Linked DNA regions of Homo sapiens: region 2 is linked to region 1. The links are contacts of gene promoters, found by promoter capture Hi-C in blood cells and fetal thymus (Javierre and others, 2016). All regions are on one chromosome and are shown on one strand. The core of a region is centred on a gene start or on the middle of the fragment in contact, and the rest is flanking DNA. Distances in the headings are between cores, read along the strand shown. Region 1 holds the start of KRT33B (keratin 33B). Region 2 has its middle 7.8 kb from the start of KRTAP9-1.

Evidence for each region. Contacts are between HindIII fragments. The CHiCAGO score rates a contact against its expected background, and 5 or more counts as called.
Region 2: a fragment that was not itself captured here is called in contact with the fragment with the promoter of KRT33B in region 1 in 1 of 17 cell types (total CD8 T cells); the score reaches 5.4 in total CD8 T cells.

What each region holds. Positions count from the first base shown.
Region 1 is chr17:41,368,212-41,374,129 of GRCh38, reverse strand. KRT33B (keratin 33B) reads left to right here and starts at 4,317. Exons shown (of 7, transcript NM_002279.5): 1 at 4,317-4,727. The coding sequence starts at 4,380. The HindIII fragment of the contact is 2,505 bases long and covers 3,208-5,712 here.
Region 2 is chr17:41,195,036-41,200,249 of GRCh38, reverse strand. No RefSeq gene overlaps it. Among named protein-coding and RNA genes, the nearest start is that of KRTAP9-1, 7.8 kb to the right of the region's middle. The HindIII fragment of the contact is 1,378 bases long and covers 2,203-3,580 here.

The DNA of each region.
Region 1 (5,918 bases), core at 3,068-5,567:
GAGAACAGAGTCTGTGGGAGGCTGAGGGAAGAAGCTGTATTTCCATGTTTTTTTCATGTCTGTCTCAAATCACCAACGTGATAGTGAGTGTAATGCAAAAGTTCAACACAACACATTTGTACTCAGCTGACTTTGCTTTATCTTCTGTGTACTGTCAAAAGGTTTTAGCATCTGCCCTCTCCCTTGATCTGCAGAGCAGGACACATATATAGGTTTTCATTCCATCTCTGAGTGGGCCCTGGATCCAGCTTTTTCAGGAAGACTAGCACCATTAAATTACATCGTCCTGGATTGTGTCATGCTCTTGTCTATTCTAGACTGAGTTGATAGTCTAGAGTAGTCAAAAACATAGCATAGATCTCGTGGGAGCTGAATGATGAGAACACGTGGACATATAGAGGGGAACAACACACACTGGAGCCTTCTGGAGGGTAGAGGGTGGGAGGAGGGAGAGGATCAGGAAAAATAACTAATGGGTACTAGGCTTAATACCTGGGTGATGAAATAATCTGTAAAACAAACTCCCATGACACAAGTTTATCTATGTAACAAACCTGCACTTGTATCCCTCAACTTAAAATAAAAGTTAAAAAAAAACACATAGCATAGATGAACTTTGTATTTTTCTGACTTGGCTTGGTCCCTGAAGACTCCAAGACTCCATTCCCATTGGGAGTCCAAGACTGAGTGTAAGAGAAACATGGTGGCTCTGGAGAGGATTTGTAGAACTACCTCCTGAGTTCCATTTTGAGGTGTTTGTATCTGTTTTTGCTCAGCGTAGCTTACTGCTGACCTGGCTCATTCTTCAGCCCCTCTCCTGCTTGTCCCTTATCAGAAGCCCCATTGAACAGGGCCAAACTTGTTGGCTTATTTCCTGAATTACCCCTTCAATTTCTCCTCTCAATGTCCTGAGGCTGGAGGATTGATAAATTGACAACAGTTGCCTTTATGGAACAGTTTGTGGAAGCCCTATCTTCTGCTCTTCTAGGAAGCTCTAACAGGCTGGCCCAAAACCATGGGCTGGGGTTGTTATTGGACAGTCTTTCTGCTTTTCTAATTCCCCTCTGGGATCCCTCTTTGGCAAAAAGTCCATCTTCTTGCTCTGTGTGCATGTAGTGATACTGCTCCTGGCCTCTCCTTCTCATTTGTACATATTAAAATATAATTAATTTTCAAGTAGCCCAATGTAACTTCGTATTTCTAAAAGAATAAATTTTACATTTCTCACGGTGACAATTTCAAGCACCAGAGCCTGGACATTGGAGAAGATGGCTTTGGGAAGAAGGAGGGAGGCCTCCTAATGCCTTTGAAGTCCCACAATGAGGAAGGTGGCCTCAGCAGAAGCCCCATCCTATGTCCACTCCGTGGTTAAGCATCGCTGGTGGGTTGGCATGTGATCTCTTCTATGGAAATAGCCCGGGCTTCCATAATAAATAGCATCCTTAAACCTCAACTGCAATTTGCTCACATCTTAAGACCAGAAGCCTCAACCATAGCATCTGCCGCTATTACATGGGCATGTATAAAACCTTTCGGTTTGTTAGGATTTGACTTACTTGTCATGTTTAATGAAGGGCCATTGAACAGAGACAATAGCATCACCCATGTAAAGATAAGAATTCACAGTACACAGCAAGTGGAGTAAGTAAAAAGCAATTGCCTTCCAGACTTTGTGAGAAGCTAATTGAAACTTGGCTCTTTTCTCCATAGACCCAAGTTCTTCCAACTATTAGTACATAATGGCCAAGTAGCTGTGCAGAAATTATAGTTACTTCTACTCAAGATGTGGGAATAGTTGTGTTTTCTAAACTCTGACCTCCACTTTTAAAGACACAAGGATACTTATCTCTGGATTATTCCACTGTGACTGAGGTAGAAGCTACAGCAATGGTTATAGGGATCCCTGTGGACATATTTACCAGTCTGTGACACACTATTCCTTCCCTTTTCTTTAAAAAGTGCCATTGTCAGATTTTTCCTTTTGAAGCTTGGGACGTAGAAGAAGGAGAGAAGAACACAAGGTAATTAGAGAAAAGCTAATGAATTCAGCTATTTGCTTTATGTTATTTGATCTCATCCAATAGGACTTTAATGGTTTGGTACTGATTTTAAACCAATATGCCCATGCCACATCTCACTGATAGTGGAATCATTTTAAAGGTAGAGATTCAGGCCGGGTGCAGTGGCTCACTCCTGTAATCCCAGCACTTTGGGAGGCTGAGGCGGGTGGATCACCTGAGGTCAGGAGATTGAGACCAGCCTGCCCAACATAGTGAAACCCTGTCTCTACTAAAAATACAAAAATTAGCCAGGCACATTACAGGTGGTGCACGCCTCTAATCCCAGCTACTAGGGAGGGTGAGACAGGAGAATAGCTTGAACCTGGGAGGCGGAGGTTGCAGTGAGCTGAGATTGCACCACTGCACTGTAGCCTGGGCAATAGAGCAATAGAGTGAGACTCTGTCTCCAAAAAAAAAAAAAAAAAAAAAAAATTAGAGATTCAGGCAGGAGGGGCAGAAAGTTGTGGATTGTGATTGTAGGGGAGGATATCAGTACCTTCAATGCATTCACCCTGGAAGACCACATGTTTGCCCCAAAGCTGCTGTCCTTTATAAAAGCATATTTGAAGCTTCTCCTTGGAAATGACTTCCAGAGTCACCCAAGAAAACACACATTATTATTTTGTAGTCACAACCTGTTTCTGACCCATTAAAGATGCTATGCAGCTTGGTTATTCACCCTATGCACTAGGTGTGGTTTCAAATGACTTCTGGCTGGTTCCAAAAATAAACACACCCATAGAAGATGAAGATTGGCCTTCAATGAGGATAACCAAAAGAATGTGTCCCAAGCTGTGAAGGCAAGTTTGAAGGAAGGGTGATCTGAGGAATGGCAGGTCACCTGTAGGAAAAGAATTCTTGTATGGCAAGACTTAATATGTAGCTTCCAAAAGGAACAACTTGGAGGAGTATCTTTCAGAATTTGAGCACTGATAGATTAAACATAAAATCCTCATATTTCATAGTTCCATCTGGAATGCATGAGAGTAGAGCATCTGCTTGCCAAAATGTGCCAATGGTCATAAAATGCCACTTCATGCACATGACATAGTGGTGGATTTTCAGGGTCATATCCTTTGGAGAGCTAGGCTTGGGTATTTCTCCCTCAGATCAACCAAGGGTTTCCTTTTTTTTTTTTTTTCAAGCTTCTAGTGGGTATGAGGCATTTTCACTTAGTAAACTTCCTTCCTTCAGCATAGAAGTGACTTTTGGTTCTTTAATAAGTAAAAAACAGGCTTGTTATTTTTTGGCCCATTCTAATTTAGGATATTGTCAGCACTGATTGAGCTCAATGGAGCTCAATCTGTATTTTTTGCATTATTGCATCTCAGTACTGAAAAGATTGGAAGAGAGAGACATGTAATATGACAGAGTGTGGACATTGGAATTAGAGAGATCTGTATTTGAACCCTGGCTCCATCATGTAGGAGCTCTGTGACCTTGGGAGACCTCTCAGAGGCTTAGGGTCCTTATCTACAAACCCTTGCAGCATTTTGAGAGGACTGAAGGAGCTGGTGCATATGAGGTGCCTGGCACTGTGCCTGGTGCACAGTGGAGGCTCAGCAAGCAGGACCCATCACCAATGACAGAGTCACGCTGTGCACAGGCATGGAGCACAGTGCTTCATGCAGAGTAGGTGCTCCCAAAATTTAGGTTTCTTAATGTTCTGTGAACACTGAATACTAGTAGAAACGGAGGTGGGTGGCTTCCTGCAGCCCCATAGGAAGAGGGTAGAGTTGCCTCCATCTGCCTGGATGGAACTGCAAATGGGCCTTGAACCAATGGCCTTGTAAGTCCTTTCTCATTTCAGCTTCCAGGATTCCCTATCACATAGTCTAGTTTCTAGACGGGTTTCCTTACATGGCTTTTCTCACAGAGTCTTAATTGAATATGAACTGGATGAGACACAAGCCTTTCCTCATTTAGGAGAAAGAGGCACATATGTGCCCCCTACTCTGGGGACAGGGCCCAGCTGTCACTCTAGCTCAATGTCCCATGGATAAGCACTGCTACAGGCAAGGTTGGTCACTTTGAAGCCAAACCATGAAGCTCTTACTTAACCAATCAGCATGTTTTGTGAGGAGTCCTGACTTAGCAAGAAGCCAGAGTAAAACATTTAATGAGGTATAGGACTCAGGTGAAGTGGCTAAATAACAAATGGAAAAATCAGCAAAGGAGGTAAAAAGGAGGAATACTTGACATGGTTGCCACACCCACTGCTAACAGAATATAAAGCCCTGGAAAGGACCAAGGCTTATCCCAGGGAAAAGGAATCAGGTTTTGAAACTGACTTCCAGAGCTCCACTGCCTCCCTGCACCATGCCCTACAACTTCTGCCTGCCCAGCCTGAGCTGCCGCACCAGCTGCTCCTCCCGGCCCTGTGTGCCCCCCAGCTGCCACGGCTACACCCTGCCCGGGGCCTGCAACATCCCTGCCAATGTGAGCAACTGCAACTGGTTCTGCGAGGGCTCCTTCAATGGCAGCGAGAAGGAGACTATGCAGTTCCTGAACGACCGCCTGGCCAGCTACCTGGAGAAGGTGCGTCAGCTGGAGCGGGACAACGCGGAGCTGGAGAACCTCATCCGGGAGCGGTCTCAGCAGCAGGAGCCCTTGCTGTGCCCCAGCTACCAGTCCTACTTCAAGACCATTGAGGAGCTCCAGCAGAAGGTGAGGAGGTGGGCACCACACTGCCAGCTTAATGAACTACTTATCTATATTTGACATACTAAACTGTGAATGGATCTAAGTCTGTTCACAGTAATGCTGAGAATGATAAAGACATAGATTCACTGGCTTAGGTATGACATCAAGTAGTCTTAGAAAATCTGTTGTAGAGCCACAAAGGAAGGATGCAGGCTGGTGTTAGAGTGAAGCATTAGACCAAAATCAGTCATAGCAATCTTATATGGCGTCTTACTCCAAACCAGAATATCTGATTTTTTGGTTTGATTATGATACCCTGGTTTTGTTTTCAGAGCATTACCGCATTTTCAAAAAGTATGCACCTGAATTATTTTCTATGCTAAGAATTTCCTAAGTAAATCTTCAAATATTTAAAGCCTTTCAAAGCTGTAGCAAAATATAGCATTTATGGCAACACAAGAGAGCTGTTGACTCCAGCAATATCTACAGACACATGGACCATCCTCTAGAGCAGCCATGTGTACAGATGACAATATGGGGCCATCTGTTCTGGAAGAGAAGTAGATATAAGTAAAGAGTCCACAGAGAATTGGGACTGAATACCTGGTGTAGGTTTGGGAGGGATCCCAGAAGAGGCAATGTCTGAGTGGGGTTTGAAGGATGAGTGGGAGTTTATATCCAATTGTACAAGCCCTTGATTCTGGGAGGGAATTGACTGCCCACTGTTCTGTAGATCTGGAAAATTAGATGCCAGAAAGGGGTTGTGCTATTTGAATATCATTCATTTATTTACCCAGAGTTGGAGAGTGTTAGGCACAGTGCTGGGGTGGGGGATAATGTACTGAGTAAGACAGTCTCCTTCCTTCAGGAGCTCACAGTCTAACAGGGGAGATAGATGTGGAAACAAAATGATCACACAAAGGTCATAAGAAGTGTTATTGATTAAGTATGTGGGTTACACAAGGGGTCTTGCTAGTGGGTGAGGGCATTCTGGGTACAGCAAGAAGCTTTTTGCAAAGGCATGAACAAGGGCAATATGAGGGGAGAGTGGAGAGAAGTTAGCAGGTGGAATGTGTTGGATAACCAAGTTGTTCTGGCTTGCCTGGGATTTTTCCCATTTTAGCATCCCAGAAACCCCTCAGTCCTAAGTTAACTGGGATGGTTGGTCACCCAACCGAAGGGTTGGATACCCAGTAACCTAATTATTGCAGGAAG
Region 2 (5,214 bases), core at 1,642-4,141, 170 kb after region 1:
ATCCCAGCACTTTGGGAGGCTGAGGCGGATGGATTGCCTGAGGTCAGGAGTTTGAGACCAGCTTGGCCAACATGGTAAATCCCTGTCTCTACTAAAAATACAAAAAGTTAGCGGGCGTGGTGGCGCATGTCTGTAATCCCAGCAACTCGGGAGGCTGAGGCAGGAGAATCGTTAGAACCCAGGAGGCGGAGGTTGCAGTGAGCCGAGACAGTGCCACTGCACTCCAGCCTCGGTGACAGAGCAAGACTCTGTAAAAAAAAAAAAAAAAAAAAAAAATTAAACATGTAACTACCATACAACTCAGTAATTGTACTTGTTCACACAAATGTTTGTACATGAATGTTTATGGCTGCTTTGAACTGGAAGCGACCCAGATGTCCTTCAACACATGATCAAACAAACTGTGGTACATACATACCAGAGGGTAATTCTTAGTGACAAAAAGGAAAAACTGTTCAACAATCTGTTTAAATTTTCACGGAATTATGCTGTGTTGAAAAAACCAGTCTCAAAATGTTAAGCACTGTATGATTCTTTTTATACAACATCCTTGAAATGACAGAATTATACAAATGAAGAACAGATTGGTGGTTGCCAGGTATAAAGAAAGGAGTGGGTGTGGGAGGCAGGTGAGAGTGGCTATAAAAGAACAATCAAAAGAGATCATTGCAGTGACAGAAATGTGTTGTACATTGGCTATGTCAATATCAATATCATATGCTGTTGGTGATGTTTTTCTATAGTTTTGGAGGATGTTATTTTTTGGGGAAACTGGGCAAAGAGTACATGGATCTCTTGTATCACATCTTACAATGGCATGCCAATCTCTATTCTTTAAAAATAAAAATTTTAATTAGAAATTTAATTTAACAAAGGAAGAAACAGGTTTTTGTGTGTGTGTTAGTGGTGTTTTTTTTTTTTTTTTGACGGAGTCTCACTGTTGCCCAGGCTGGAGTGCAGTGGTGCGATCTCAGCTCACTACAACCTCCATCTTCCTGGTTCAAGGAATTCCCATGTCTCAGCCTCCCAGGTAGTTGGGATTACAGGCACACGCCACTACGCGCAGCTAATTTTTTTCTATTTTTAGTAGAGATGGGATTTCATCATGTTGGCCAGGCTGGTCTCGAACTCCTGACCTCAGGCAGTCCACCTGCCTCAGCCTCCCAAAGTGCTGGGATTACAGGCGTGAGCCACCATGCCCCGATGAAACAGTTTTAAGAAGCATTTTATCTTTAAAAGGTAGAAGAACATGGGTTTTGGAGATCGGACAAACATCTGACCACTTCCACTGTTACCACGAGATCATGCATCAGACAGAGCTGAGCAGCTTTTTTTTTAAAAAAAAATTTACTTCCATAAGTTTTTGGGGAACAGGTGGTATTTGGTTACATGAGTATGTTCTTTAGTGGTGATTTGTGAGATTCTGGTGCACCCATCACCCGAGTAGTGTATGCTGAACCCAATTTGTAGTCTTTTATCCATCACCCCTTCCATCTTTTCCCCTGAGTCCCCAAAGTCCATTGTATCATTCTTATGCCTTTGCATCCTCATAGCTAGCTCCCACTTACAAGATTTCAGGTTCGGTTTTCCATTCCTGAATTACTTCTCTTAGAATAATAGTCTCCAATTCCATCCAGATTGCTGTGTCATTAATTCATTCCTTTCTATGGCTGAGTAGTATTCCATCATATATACAACCATTTCTTTTTCCACTCATTGATTGATGGGCATTTGGGCTGGTTTCATATTTTTTGCAATTGCAAATTGTGCTGTTATAAACATGCACGTGCAAGTATCTTTTTCGTATAATGACTTCTTTTCCTCTGGGTAGATATCCAGTTTTGGGATTGCTGGATCAAATGGTAGTTCTACTTTTAGTTCTTTAAGGAATCTCCACACTATTTTCCACAGTGGTTGTACCAGTTTACATTCCCAGCATGAGCAGCTTTTTAAATTAAAAAAAAAAAAACTAACTTCTTGGTGAATCTGGATTCATAATATCTGTACTCCATTCTGAGGGGACTTCAGATGTTGGCATGATTTTACTCCAGTATGTGTTTTAAAAAGAAAAGGAAGGACACTCCCTAAATCCAATCCCTAGAAGTTCTATCAACATCCTCTCAAGCCTTTATATCATTTATTTATACTTATATCAAGTACTCTCAAGCTTTTATATTAATTAGACAGGTACAGTAGAAAGCTTTTAGGTTGGGTAGATTCTGATATCGATTTTCAGAAGATTCCAATATTCTTATCTAAGCTGAAAGAAGGTATTGAAACATCATACAAATACCGTGGGAATCTCTCAGAACAACTTACATAATACAGTGTTATCAGTCTTCAAAATTTCTATAATTTCATATAATATCAGTATTATCAGTCTTCAAAATTTCTATAATTTCATGAAGTTCTTAATATCTTAGAAACAAATCTACACTTGTTAACCTCAGTGGGAATCATTATACATGTTCCTCTGATTCTTTTTCCATTTTTCCACATTTTACACATGAGCAAACTCTGAACATAACAAACCTCACAATTCTCCAGTGAGTCAATCTGATGTTGATAGGACTTCCAATATTGGCAGTTCTGGGGGCTCTCTCACACTTCTTAAACTATCAATGTTATAGCTGGGATTGGAATTAGGGAGTGTCATTCCTTTTCTTTTTAAAACACATACTGGAGTAAAATCATGCCAACATCTGCCATCTAGGGGGAATTCTGAATGGAGGTTCTCCAGTGGAAAAATAGGGAAGTTTTGTTACATACATTGTACACTGGACAGAGCTAAAGAAAATGAAAAACCATTTCGTGAAAGCATTACTTGGTCTTGTCCATAATAATATTATATTTTAATAGAGGACTGAAGTGTGGAATTGTCTTTTATGTTTAATGGCAGTCATAGGAAAAATTGCAGTAGGATGTGCATAAACCATCAGAACTCACTGAGGGATCCCAGGGGAAGGAGTGTGATGGGGGAATCACACAAACAGGTGTATGATGTCATGTTACTGTCTAATGATAACAAAGAGCCCATGCCAGTTTCTGAAGACAGACCTGCATGGCTGCAGCTTATATTTTTATTTGGAAGAAAGAGAAAGTGGACAAAATCCGGAGTTGCCTAAAATATAATTTGTATGCTATGGCCTGAAACTTCATAAATGATCCATAAATATGATGGCAAAAGTAAACAAAATTAAAAATGTTTTGTAGGTCTTTATGAGGCAAAGGCATAAATGAGGTTGTATCAGAAGTTGGGGAACATGGGAGGGGCTGCTTCAAGACCTGCAGAAATTACTGTAAGTTGATTGAAGATGGTTTTAAAAAGAACCTGGGACTTATAAATGGGGGTGGAGGTTTGGTGAGCCATGGCAGCTTAGAGAAAAGAGAGAGTCTGAGACAAATTCAGAAGTGCTGGTTACGACACATTGCATGGGGGAGGGAGAGCCACCCAAGGCACTTGAATTTTCCAGAGTGCCTGGCAAAATCTGTTTTAGAACAAATGCATTAGATGCCATTCCGTATTATTAGAACTTCTAGAATATTAGAATGTTCTAAATATTTGCTGAGAAAATAAGCTTTTAGGGCAATACAAGGGATCCTTGTGCTGATGGAGCTACTCTGTGTCTTGAAGGTATCAATGTCACCATTGGACTTGTGATACCGTACTGTAGTTTTGCAAGAAGTTATCATTGGGGGGAAACTTGGTAAAGAGTACAGAGGTTTCTTTGTATTATTTCTTGCAACTGCATGTGAATCTACAATTATCTCAAAAAGTTTAATTATAAAAAAGAAAATAACCTTTGGTTATAATTTCACTTTTCATGCAGGTATATCTATAGGAAGAAAATATCCTGGTCAAAAAGACCCATGAAAATGTCATCTTCTCTTTAAGTTATTTCTCATGTAGATTCTTCAACTGGTACTAATGTTATGGGCTTGGTGAAAGTGAGCCTGCTCCCAGAGGTGGTTTCACTCTTAGAATGTAAATAATTTCAGTTTCTGGAGTGTGCAAGGCTGAAGGCCAGATACTGGTACGTTTTTCAAGGTAGTATTTACTACCCTGGAAGACAGCCTTCCTGTTTCCTCCAAAGGATGCCTAATAAGTATGTATGGCACTTTGTGTTTCTTTTTAAATTTTACATATTTTACATATTTTGTTGCTTATGGACTTCAAAAATCAGCGAATGGTCAATTTTGAATCCAACAAAAACATTTGGGAACTTTTGAAGTATCTCAAGAACTGAAGTGACCTCTGAAGTCCAATAATAATAACCAATTACCAGACACTGCGAATCCTTGGCACAATGTTCTAATGATTGTCCAGCCAACGCTTGCATCCCAATAGTGTTTAGAATTCACATTGCCAGAATAATTTTTGCATTAGCTCCTTCCACTCTAGGCCTCTGGCAATTTTTCCTCATTGGGATCATTTGCAAATGGAATGAACCGAAAGGAATTCCTGTGAGGTTCCTACTCTTACTAGCCATCTTTTCTCCCAGTGCTTCGTCCCAAAAAAATCACCTTAAATTTCTTCTAAGCTCTGGCATCTGCCTTCTTACTGAACAGATGACATTCTTACCAGGCGTATTTCTTCTCCCCAGCCTTTGCAGACTTTAAGATGCTCACTGTTTCCCAAGGTCTTCATCACTGACTTTATTTCTTTATTTTTTTTCACTTTTATTTTAAGTTCAAGGGTACATGTGCAGGACTTTTTTTTTTTTTCAGATGGAGTTTAGATCTTGTTGCCCAGGCTGGAGCACAATGGTGCGATCTCAGCTCACTGCAACCTCCGCCTCCTGGGTTCAAGCCATTCTCCTGCCTCAGCCTCCCAAGCAGCTGGGATTACAGGCATGCGCCACCACACCCGGCTAATTTTGTATTTTCAGTAGAGACAGGCTTTCTCTATGTTGGTCAGGCTGGTCTCGAACTCCTGACCTCAGGTGATCCACTCACCTCGGCCTCCCAAAGTTTTGGGATTACAGGCGTGAGCCACCACGCCCGGCTGCAGGTTTGTTATATAGGTAAACTGCATGTTGCAGGGTTTGGTGTACAGATTATTTTGTCACCCAGGTAATCAGCATAGTACCTGACAGGCAGTTTTTCAATCCTCACCCCCCTCCCACCCTCCACCCTTAAGTAGACACAGGTATCTCTGTTGTCCCTATCTTTGTGTCCATATTTACTCAATTTTTAGCTCCTACTTATAAGTGG